2 separate regions of the Homo sapiens genome follow, and region 1 is linked to region 2. Evidence: promoter capture Hi-C in 16 types of primary human blood cells and fetal thymus (Javierre and others, 2016). All regions are on one chromosome and are shown on one strand. The core of a region is centred on a gene start or on the middle of the fragment in contact, and the rest is flanking DNA. Distances in the headings are between cores, read along the strand shown. Region 1 holds the start of HOXD13 (homeobox D13). Region 2 overlaps LOC105373760 (a long non-coding RNA gene).

Region 1 (5,478 bases), core at 1,584-4,083, 1.1 Mb before region 2:
CTGTTGTTAAAAACCCCTGCATAATGCACCCACACACAAACACAAGGCTTGGTCTGTGTTCCTGGCCACCTAAAGAAACTGATTCCCAGTAAGTTTAAACCTGAATGAAATGTTTCTGCAAATTCAGCCTCAAAATTCCTCCTCTACCTGGCATCCCTGGCTTGTAAACTATGTGTCTCATTAGTTCATAAACAAAGCAGCCCTGACTTTGCCTTGTACTCAACCACAGCCCTAGGAGCCAGTAGAATTTGTCCAGAGGTGCTGGGCTTTGGAGCCCAAGTGGACAAAGTCAGACCCCCTTTCCTCAGGGCAAAGCCCTCCCACAGGGCTGGGACCCCAAAGGCTATGCTGGAAGCAGGTTCAGCAGCAGGATATCAAGGGGCAAAGCTCCTAATTCAAAATCTTCCTGGCTTCTGAACAACCATTAGGATGGACAGAGAAAACTTTTGCCCTGCTCTGAGAGGGTCCCACAGGGCTTTTGGAAGCAGAGCCACCATTGAGAAATCCCTTTCAACCTGAGTAGTAATTCAGATTTTTCTCCCACTCCTGCACAACTTAATTTGCTGAATGGAAAATTCAGCCAGAAGTGATGGGCTGCTTGAAATCAACAAAACTTGACACATTCTTCCCATTTTCATTTTACTTTATTGTTAAACACATAATTGATCATTAAAATGTACTTATCAGTGAGAAAATGAAGCAGAAGCCCAAGGCACAAAACCACAGGGATATTTAATTTTAAGAGACTGAAAGTTTGTTGGTTCTACTTATATCTTAGAAATATTTCAACGAATTTGTTTTTTGGAGTCATAAAAAGTTAAAACTATCTTCATGTTTTCTCTGTCTGAGGAAGAAAAAATGAGACAAAGGGAAAATAAAAGCATTTCATGGTGGCCCATGGTTGGTGGTTTGGTACCAAAATTGTTTCATAAAGACCCAGCCAAACCCTCTTTAAAAGTTAGCAATCCTGTCGCCTCGCCACAGTTGGCCTTTTTAAAATGCTGGTTGAACTTTCATTGCTGACTTTTGCCTTCTTTTCCCAAATAGTGAAAAAAATTTTCTCATCAGCAAACTTCTATTCCCTATGATTTCCTGTAAATTCAGGCCCCTCCCATCTCAAATTTGATCATGAACATGTCTAGAACTTCAAAACGATGAAACGAATTCTCTTGCTTTTCCTTTCCAACACCCCTCTCATAACTTTCCCCTTTATTTGAGCCTTTTATGGTTACTGCGTTTTGCATGTCAACACTCCTAACACCAGCAGCCTACCCTGAAATGCCAGGCCAGGCCAAGGAGGGCCTTCCTGGCTCTCTTCCTCATCTTACTCAGGGCATCTTTGGTCGGGGAACAGTGGTGCTGGGTGACAAGCTTTCACCAATCACAGGCTTAGGGGAGTGATTTTCTTGGAGATGGGCTGGCTTGGGGAGTGCATGCCACAGAACCAAATGGGCTCTGAAGGATCCCATATCCACCCCCAGAACCCTGGGCTCATTGGATCTAATATTGTTCCTAAGGCAGAGCCCCAAAGTCACAGCAGGACTCTCATTGGTGCCCCATTAGTTGCTGAGATTGAGGGATGGTGGGCTGGAGCTCTGAGGCTGAGGAGCAACAGAAAGGGATGATGAGGGACAGGGCTGTAATCCCTAACACCCTGGCAGCTTGGTTCCAGAGCTGGACCTAGCCCCACCAGCACTGCCCTGAGCCCACCTAACCCCTTGAAGTCAGACCGTTTCTCTGGGCTGCTCCTATCACAAAATCCGAATTTGCTTGGAACAAGCGCCCTCTTAATTTGCCCCTCTCAGTTCTCTGCAGTTGACAGCTTGGAAAAGGAAGCGAAACAAAGGTCCCTGGGAAAGTGAAGTTTTCAATTAATTTGGTGTGAGAAACGGGCGGGAGTGGGTGGTGACTGCAAAATGCGAGGCCGGTCGGCTGCTGGAGAGACACAGAAGTTTCACGGTGGGAGGCTGAGTGGCTTTCTCCCCCGGCGCCGTTCTCAGGGTCTTTCTGCGGGTCGAAGAAGGACCCGCGGGAGCTGAGAGGCCCAGGTCGGAAGCACTCCCGGCTGGCCCAAGAGTAGAGGCGAAGAGCGTTGAGTAGGCATCCATGGACTTTTCTTTCTGGGACAGATTGTCAGGCTCACTGCGCCGATGCCTGTCTTTCATCTGTTTAAGTCTCTGCCGCCAGCCCCAAGGGCGCTTCATGGGCATTTTCCGAACGGACAGCGTGTGTGTATAGGAAGGGTCTGCTCCAATGCCTCTTACCTGTGTGAAATGCCTTTGCCGGGTACCAGTGCACAAGGTAGGGCAAATTAGCTCACTCGGATTTGGGGTCTAGAAGTCGACTAACTGAGGGATTCAGCAACAGGATAAAAAAATGGGCCTGTTTTCACATCATTCTGATCATCTCTGTCCTTCGTCTTCATTTTGCTGTGCAACTCGGGGAGCCGAGGAGAGGTGGCAAAAACAGCGGTTGCCGAGACAAGGCGCAGGCCTTGGCGCCCGCCTCAGTCGCAGACAGGGCCTGGGATGGGCCGTCGCGCAATCAACTCGTGGGGGTGGCTGCAGCGCGTACGCCTGGGTCGGGGGGGAGGGCGGGAATGGGAGGTGGACCCTGCAAGGGGCAGGAGAGGGGTGGGGGCCGGAGTGGGTGGGTCCAGCCAGGCCTGGGCCGGGAGCCAGGCTCCCCCGCGTTCCTACCCCCACGTGGCCGCGCGCAGCCAATGGCACGCCCCCGGCGGGGGCCCTCGGGGCGGGAGGCGGCCCCCCGACCGGCCCAGGCCCCCTCCCAACCTGAACTTCGTTTTTATAAACGTCCCGCGATGAGCTAACCTGTTGGAGGGCAGGCGGGCCGGAGGCGGGAGGCTCACAGAGGGAGAGAGGGCTAGAGGAAGAGGGCGGGAGCGAGCGAACCAGAGAGAAAGGAGAGGAGGGAGGAGGCGCGCCGCGCCATGGTGTCCTGCGCGGGGCCAGGGCCAGGGCCGGGGCCGGGCCAGGCCGGGCCATGAGCCGCGCCGGGAGCTGGGACATGGACGGGCTGCGGGCAGACGGCGGGGGCGCCGGTGGCGCCCCGGCCTCTTCCTCCTCCTCATCGGTGGCGGCGGCGGCGGCGTCAGGCCAGTGCCGCGGCTTTCTCTCCGCGCCTGTGTTCGCCGGGACGCATTCGGGGCGGGCGGCGGCGGCGGCAGCGGCGGCTGCGGCGGCGGCGGCGGCAGCCTCCGGCTTTGCGTACCCCGGGACCTCTGAGCGCACGGGCTCTTCCTCGTCGTCGTCCTCTTCTGCCGTTGTAGCGGCGCGCCCGGAGGCTCCCCCAGCCAAAGAGTGCCCAGCACCCACGCCTGCAGCGGCCGCTGCAGCGCCCCCGAGCGCTCCAGCGCTGGGCTACGGCTACCACTTCGGCAACGGCTACTACAGCTGCCGTATGTCGCACGGCGTGGGCTTACAGCAGAATGCGCTCAAGTCATCGCCGCACGCCTCGCTGGGAGGCTTTCCCGTGGAGAAGTACATGGACGTGTCAGGCCTGGCGAGCAGCAGCGTACCGGCCAACGAGGTGCCAGCGCGAGCCAAGGAGGTATCCTTCTACCAGGGCTATACGAGCCCTTACCAGCACGTGCCCGGCTATATCGACATGGTGTCCACTTTCGGCTCCGGGGAGCCTCGGCACGAGGCCTACATCTCCATGGAGGGGTACCAGTCCTGGACGCTGGCTAACGGGTGGAACAGCCAGGTGTACTGCACCAAGGACCAGCCACAGGGGTCCCACTTTTGGAAATCTTCCTTTCCAGGTAGGGGCGATGGAGAAAAGGGACCGACACGAGGGAGGGGGAGAGAGAAGGAGAAAAGAAAGGACTAAGAGTATGCGCCCCTACTTGGGAGTGGGAGTTGTGCCTGTGCTCCACACGTGACCAGGGTTAACCCAGTGGAAATTTGTCCAGTTCGTGTGAAATCTGTAAATTCCTCCTCTGATTTCAACTGCCTCCGTCACTGCCCTTTCTTTCCTGTGTGCAGCGCAGACACGTTTTTCTCCTAAAGTTGAGAGTCTCTGCGTGCCCTTTCCTTGGGCCTCTCCCTTTTCTCCTAAAGAGAACTTTTTCCTAAGAAACCTGACAGAGTTGGGTCCCCCCATTTTCAAAGACATCACTGCCCCAAGATGACTACTAAAGCTTGTTAGATCAAGCTCACGAACTCCTAACATAGGAACGCGGGAAATCAAAATTTGAGCAAAAGACCTGAGTTGGTATGTGTCTATGTATGTAAGTTTGTTTTTATACAACCGACATTTGCAGAAACTGTCCTCATGAACGTGCCCAATAACCACACCATAAAATTGCAAGCTTGTTAAGATGCCGGTTTGAGAAACTATGATAATCAATCAAATTAACCATTGTTGTTAAGTGCAAATAATCCTTCTTTAATAACAGGTAAGTGTTATGTCTATGTACATAATAAAGACCAAACAGCATGGCATTTTTTAAAAATTTCCTGCACCCCTGCAAACGCACACACACACACACACACACACACACACACAATCCTCAGCTAGGTGCTCCGAATATCCCAGCCTAATTTTTCTTGTGCTTTTGTTTGTATCAGGGGATGTGGCTCTAAATCAGCCGGACATGTGCGTCTACCGAAGAGGGAGGAAGAAGAGAGTGCCTTACACCAAACTGCAGCTTAAAGAACTGGAGAACGAGTATGCCATTAACAAATTCATTAACAAGGACAAGCGGCGGCGTATCTCGGCTGCTACGAACCTATCTGAGAGACAAGTGACCATTTGGTTTCAGAACCGAAGAGTGAAGGACAAGAAAATTGTCTCCAAGCTCAAAGATACTGTCTCCTGATGTGGTCCAGGTTGGCCACAGACAGCTTAGAAGCCATTCGGTTGTCTCCAAAAGGCCTTTGGAAAGACTTGAATATGTATTTAATTCCCCCCACCCCCTGCCAATGGTGGCAAATTTTGTGAATTGTTTTTCTCTCTTCCCCTTATCTGGCTCTAAAACCTTCTGCTGCCCAACCTGACTTTGTAGTTCTGATTTTTACTTGTTTATTATTGGTTTTGTTCTTGCCTAGGGTTTTTAAAATATCTGTTTTTAATGTTTTGTTTCTCCCTCCAGGCCAGTATAAAGGGACTTGAAGTATTTTTTAATAATCCGCCCCCCAATGAACTTCAGAAGTGCCATTCTGATTTAAGGGTTTTTTTAAAAAATTACTTTATTTGTTCATTCCCAGCACTGATTATCTTCATAATCCATTAGGACAGAATGGTTTTCAGTCGTTCATATCCTGTAATTAGGTAATTGAATCATTAGCTCTCAGCAGTTGCCCTGAGGCAAGTGGAAAGGCAGGCAGTGCTCTGGGGTCACCGAGAAAGTCTAAAAACAGGAGGCTGAAGGTACTGTGATGGCTTTAAAAATGGCCACCTTATTAAATAGGGATTGTATCAATATTGAAATGAAGACAATCTTTCCAACTTTGG
Region 2 (6,033 bases), core at 1-2,500:
GGGGAAATGGGAGATCTGGTAATAACTGTTTCTTTGTTTTTTCAGTTCACCTGACCTATTTAAACATTTTAATTTAGAAATGCTCCTCAGACTTCTCAGGTTTGGTCTCATGAGTAAGCAAATCAGGAACCCACAGGAACCACTTGTCAGGTTTCATTTCAAGGGAATTGGAAAGGGATCCTGACCTCCTAAAATATTTAAAGATGTTTAAAATCACATTCTTAGACCTTCTTGAACAGAAAAATGAACTTTTAAAAAAAGAGACAACATCGGTCACAATTGTTCAACACTAGAAATAACCCACAAGTCCCTAAAGAATAAAATAGCATGGCAAATAACATGGTAAATTCACGTAAGGAAATATTATTCAGCATTGAAAATGAATGCACTAATGCCACACTCAACATGGATGAATCGCAAAATACAATTTTGAGCAAAAGCAGCAAGACACAGAAGAATACAAATGATTCCACTTACATAAAGTGCCAAAACTGGTTCTGTATTTCACAATAAAAATGCAAAAGAAGTACATCCAATGGTCATTTCAAAATGCATCCAGAAAAAAAACATAATAAGCTGTGCCCATCATTTATGTTTTGGTGAAAATAAGTCTATCAGCTCCATGATTGCAGTCTTGAGAGGGAAGGAGAGAAGAGCAAAGCATGAAGACTGTAAATTCTAGAAGAGAGTAGTGGTGAGACTGTGAGCTCTGGAATCACACTGACCTGGATTTGAACTAGAGCCCTGCCATTTAATGACTGTGGATCTTGGGCTGGGGTATAAATCTCTCAAGCTCTTTGTTCCCCACCTAGAAAATAAAGATCACAGTGGGCCCAACATCATAGGGTCATTTTGAGGCTTACAGCACGCACTAGTTTTCACTAATTGTCCAATAAGTGTTTTTTTTCTTTCCCGAGATTGGAAGTAGAGGAGGAAATCAGCACAGGGAGTAGCAAAGGAAAACACTGGGCACTCACTGTGTTTCCTTCCCACTCACCCTTGGGTCACTCCTCCACCCCATGGGCTTCTCTGTGAACCACTAACACTTGCTTCTCTAGCAAGAGTCACCAGAGATCTTGTTATTCAACCCAATGAATATCTTTTCTCTACATCATTTGATACTATTTACTTTTTCTTCCTCCTTGAAACTTTTCTTCTCGTTTTCTTTGATAACCTGGGCTGTCCCCTTCTCACTAAAACCCCCATCATTGCCCACTATCAGGCCCTTGTCACTTTCCTCCTGTCTGCAACAGCCTCCTAACTGGTTTTCTCCAGCATGGCCCCTTTCCAACCCTCTCTCCACACTGCAGCCAGTGCATTTGTCCTAACATGTGGATCTCACCATGCCTCTTCCCCACAGCCTTATAGCAACCTCTATCTTGTTCAGCCATGGAAGATCTAGTCTTTCTATCTGTCTGTCTTCGGGCTCATCAATTACTGCACTAACCTACCCACTCTCATTTGGACCTTCTTGGCTTTCTACCACCTGTTTTCTCTACCTGGAATCTTGACCATATTACCTGCCTCACATAATGAACTTTAAAACTCAGGACAGGTCTCCCTCCCACCCACCATGCACCTCTTTCTACATTATATACCTTCCTTTGTAATCAGTACAATCTATGATCATTCTTGAACCTCTGCACTATTTACCCATGGATGGTCTACATACTCAAAAGACTGCCAACTCTGTAAAGGCAGGCACCTTTCCTACTGATCTTTCTATACCACCACCCAACAGAGTGGCCAACAAAAACCTAGTTAAGTAAATTAATGAATCAAGCAAATAATCAATGCTTACTTCACAGTTTTACAGAACTATCATCGCATCTCCTCTACTATAACTTCCTCATCTACTTCTACAGGAGAAAAGGGGTTATGTATCATATCCTTGTCTCTTAAACTCTGTCTTCTAACATTTATTGGTTATTTATTGCCATCATTATTATATTTTTCCACATCATATTTAACTAATCAAAAATTTTACAGGTATTTTAAACCTCTTGATCTTGTTCAATATGCTGTATGGGTAATTGGATAGCCATGAATCCAAATACTAACTTTACCACTGACTAACTCTGAGACCTTGAGTAAGTCACTCAACTCTGTTTCCGTTTTCCCACCTGTAAAATGAGGGTAAAAATTCCTAACCAACGGCTTTCTTGTGAAGTTAAATGAACTAAAATGAGGTTAATGTACATAAAGCATTTAGCACATTGCCTAGCACAAATAAGAATGCAGAAATAGTATCTACTAGTATTAATGCACAACTAAGTTTTGTTTTGCAGAGCATAATTTGTTAATCATTCATTATAGTGCTCTGTACTTTTCAAAACTAAGGGTCACCTTGGTTTTAAGAGTAAGGCCTCGGCCAGGCGCGGTGGCTCACGCCTGTAATCCCAGCACTTTGGGAGGCCGAGGCGGGTGGATCACCTGAGGTCAGGAGTTCGAGACCAGCCTGGCCAACATGGTGAAACCCCATCTCTACTAAAAACATAAAAAAATTAGCCGGGCATGGTAGTGAGCACCTATAATCCCAGCTACTTGGGAAGCTGAGGCAGGAGAATTGCTTGGGCCCAAGAGATGGAGGTTGCAGTGAGCCAACATGGTCCCACTGCACTCCAGCCTGGGTGATGGAGTGAGAGTCCACCTCAAAAAAAAAAAAAAAAGAGTAAGGCCTCAATAACTATATTCAAGTATGTATTTTTTCCCAAAAGGAAAAACTTTAAAACGTATGCTTTTATAAAACATATGCATATATATATATACATATGCTGCATAACTACCTTGCTTATTTCATAAGTGAAAAATATTAAATTAAATGAAAATATAGATTCCACTCAGTAAATGATAGCATTTTCATCGTGCAATCTACATACTATTTTAAATGCATGTAAATCATATGTTATTCATTCATGAAACATGCTTCAAGTATATAACGTAAAAAATTCAGTTAAAACTTTTCCTATTTTCTGTGCTTAATATCTCAATTTGAATCTTATTAAAGTTTAAATGGTGGTTTTGAAGAAGGCAATAAGAACAGAAAAATATTCAACCTGAGGAAGCTGACTGAAAGGAAAGAACAGAAAAACAGAAATGAAGGAAACAGAATCAATTAAATAGAACTATATGAGGACATTTGTATGGCCATTGTAAATAAGAAGGCAAGATCTCTGGAAGATATATCTGACATTTAATATATATTATAGGTATAGTATATATTTGTATTTTTAAAAATCACCATATCCTTCACTAATCTAAAAGTGAGGGATCTGTTTGCTTTATCTACAAAACTTACTTTCCCCTTTCCCAATTGCCACTCCCCAGAAAAGAAACAACAAATGTGAGCTATTTTATTCAAAAAGGAGAATCTCATGACAATAGGATTATTATGACAAGCATTTTCCACACTTTATTCTTCATGCCCAGAATGACATTAGTAAGATAAGACATTTTAAAAGTCAATAGCACTTATTTTGAAGTTTAAACTATCATGTTAAAAAAAAAAAGTCATTTCCTTAAACAGGAAATGTATTAATAATGGCACAAAAGACAGTACAAGTCATTCTATAGAGTACAGTGTTTCCCTTCAAAAAGAAAATAATATCCTTATTCTCAAAGGGTAGTAACTCTTTAATGTAGTTGTTTTAAAAAAAATCCAGGGGGGGGAAATTTTAGCACCCTTCATCTCACATTCATATATATTTTGCTGAGTTCTGATCATTTGAAAAACTAATGTATTTCACTAAAGATTTAAGTTGAGACTATCTGAAACTTAAAATTGCATCATTATAATCTAGTTGTCACCAAATAAGTTTTATCTGCTTTCTACATATATTACTTATTTTTATACCAACATTTGCAAAACTATTTTTGCAACTGACCCAGTCTGTTAAGCATCATCATACCCCAGAAAGCTTTGCAAAGAATGAATTATTGGGGCTGCTCTGTCTATGGGGTAGCCATTCTTTTATTCCTTTTCTTTCCTAATAAACTTGCTTTCACTTTAAAGATTAAAAAAGAGTGAATTATTAAAATAGTACATTTTTGCAGACTCCTAAAGTTTTTAAATTTACTTATGGAACAGAGATTTAAGATAAAAATATTTTTAGCATTGTTTAATTTGTATTTTATTTGCTATAACTTCAGATTAGATGGTATTGGGGGGAAAACTATCAAGCAATGTAATTATACATGGGTTCAAAGTCCTAAGAGGTTACCAAACCCTCAGTATATTTTATTTCCTATTAGCTAAAAACATAGAACTTTACATTTTGGTTCAATTCACTGCCTAACTCATTTCACCAACAGGTCTGACTTTCCCATCTCTTCTTTTTCTTTCTTTTTTTTTTTTTTTTTTCTTTTTTGAGACAGAGTCCTGCTCTGGTCACCCAGGCTGGAATGCAGTGGTGCAATCCAGGCTCACTGCAACCTCTCTGCCTCCCAGCCTCAAGTGATCCTCCCACATCAGCCCCGCAAGTTGCTGGGACTAAAGGTGCACAGCACCACAACAAACTAATTTTTTTTTATTTTTATATTTTTTGTAGAGATGGGGTTTTGCCTTGTTGCCCAGGTTGGTCTCAAATTCCTAGACTCAAGTGATCCACCCACCTCAGCCTCCCTAAGCACTGAGCCACCATGCCCATTCTTATCTCAATAAAATTTCCTCATTTGATTAGAAAGGAAAACTTTTGGCTGAGCATGCTGGCTCACACCTATAATCCCAGCACTTTGGGAGGCCGAGGCGGGAGGATCACATGAGGTCAGGAGTTCAAGAACAGCCTGGCTAAGATGGCAAAACCCTGTCTCTACTAAAAATAAAAATACGGGCATGGTGTCGCATGCCTGTAATCCCAGCTACTTGGGAGGCTGAGGCAGAAGAGTCACTTGAACTTGGGAGGCAGAGGTTGCAGTGATCCAAGATCATGCCATTGCACTCCAGCCTAGGCAACAAGAGTGAGACTTCGTCTCAAAAAATAAAATAAAATGGAAAGAAAGGAAAACTTTTCCTGGAGTTTATCCTAATGACTGAAGTGTATCAATTTTAGGTACTTTTGTGTGATGAGCAGCTGCGAGGTCAATCAAAGGCATTGTCAAATCCATACTGAAATATAATAAACTAAGTTTAGTCTGTCTACTTCATAAAAATTTATAAAAACACATCAAAATTCATTAGCTAACAGATTTCCTAAAGCAAATAAAGGCTTGTATGGATGACTGCCTGTGTAGATTGATTCAATTCACTGAGTCATCAGCATGTTTATAAGTGAATGGTTACCTGAAGATGGATAAGCCAATGGAAGTCTCTTATTTTCTAGTTCAGGAAATAAGGAGGACTCTGGAAACAAATCTTCTAAAATGGGACTCCCAAGTCTCTAAAATTGTTGCTTTGCTTTTGAATGATCATTCTCAGGATCCAGGATGTAGATTATTACTTTGAAGATAGCTTTTTACTAAAAACTAGTTTGAGGAATGATTTAGAAATGCTTTTCTTTTTTTTTTTTTTTTTTTTTTTTGAGACAGGGCCTTGCTCTTTCACCCAGGCTGGAGTGCAGTGGCATGATCACAGCTCACTGAAACTTCCTAGACTCAAGTGATCTTTCCACCTCAGCCTGCCGAGTACCTGGGACCACAGGGACATGCCAGCAAACTCAGCTAATTTTTTAATTATTTGTAGAGATGGGGTGTTGCTATGTTACCCAGGCTGGTCTTGAACTCCTGGGCTCAAGTGATCCTCTCACCTTGGCCTCTCAAACTGCTGGGATTAGATTATAGGCATGAGCCAGCTTTTTGTTGTTGTTGTTGTTTGCTTGCTTGTTTGTGTTTGTTTCTAGAGATGGGGTCTCACTGTTGCCCAGGCTGGTCTCAAACTCCTGGACTAAATTCTGCCACAGCCTCCCAAAGCATTGGGACTACAGGCGTGAGCCACCTCACCCAGCCTAGAATTGTTTATTCTAAATATCTCCTTTTTAAAGCAAAGAAGATCAGTTTGGGTTTAGTAGCAGAAACAGTAAAAATGAAATTTTTACTTTC

The links. Contacts are between HindIII fragments. The CHiCAGO score rates a contact against its expected background, and 5 or more counts as called.
Region 1: the fragment with the promoter of HOXD13 here is called in contact with a fragment that was not itself captured in region 2 in 2 of 17 cell types (naive CD8 T cells and naive CD4 T cells); the score reaches 6.5 in naive CD8 T cells.

Annotation. Positions count from the first base shown.
Region 1 is chr2:176,089,888-176,095,365 of GRCh38, forward strand. It overlaps HOXD13 (homeobox D13), which reads left to right and starts at 2,834. Exons shown (of 2, transcript NM_000523.4): 1 at 2,834-3,784; 2 at 4,593-5,478. The coding sequence starts at 3,004. The coding sequence ends at 4,843. The HindIII fragment of the contact is 2,791 bases long and covers 1,370-4,160 here.
Region 2 is chr2:177,150,570-177,156,602 of GRCh38, forward strand. The region is part of intron 1 of LOC105373760 (a long non-coding RNA gene); the gene reads right to left. Among named protein-coding and RNA genes, the nearest start is that of MIR4444-1, 59 kb to the right of the region's middle. The HindIII fragment of the contact is 5,330 bases long and covers 1-3,915 here.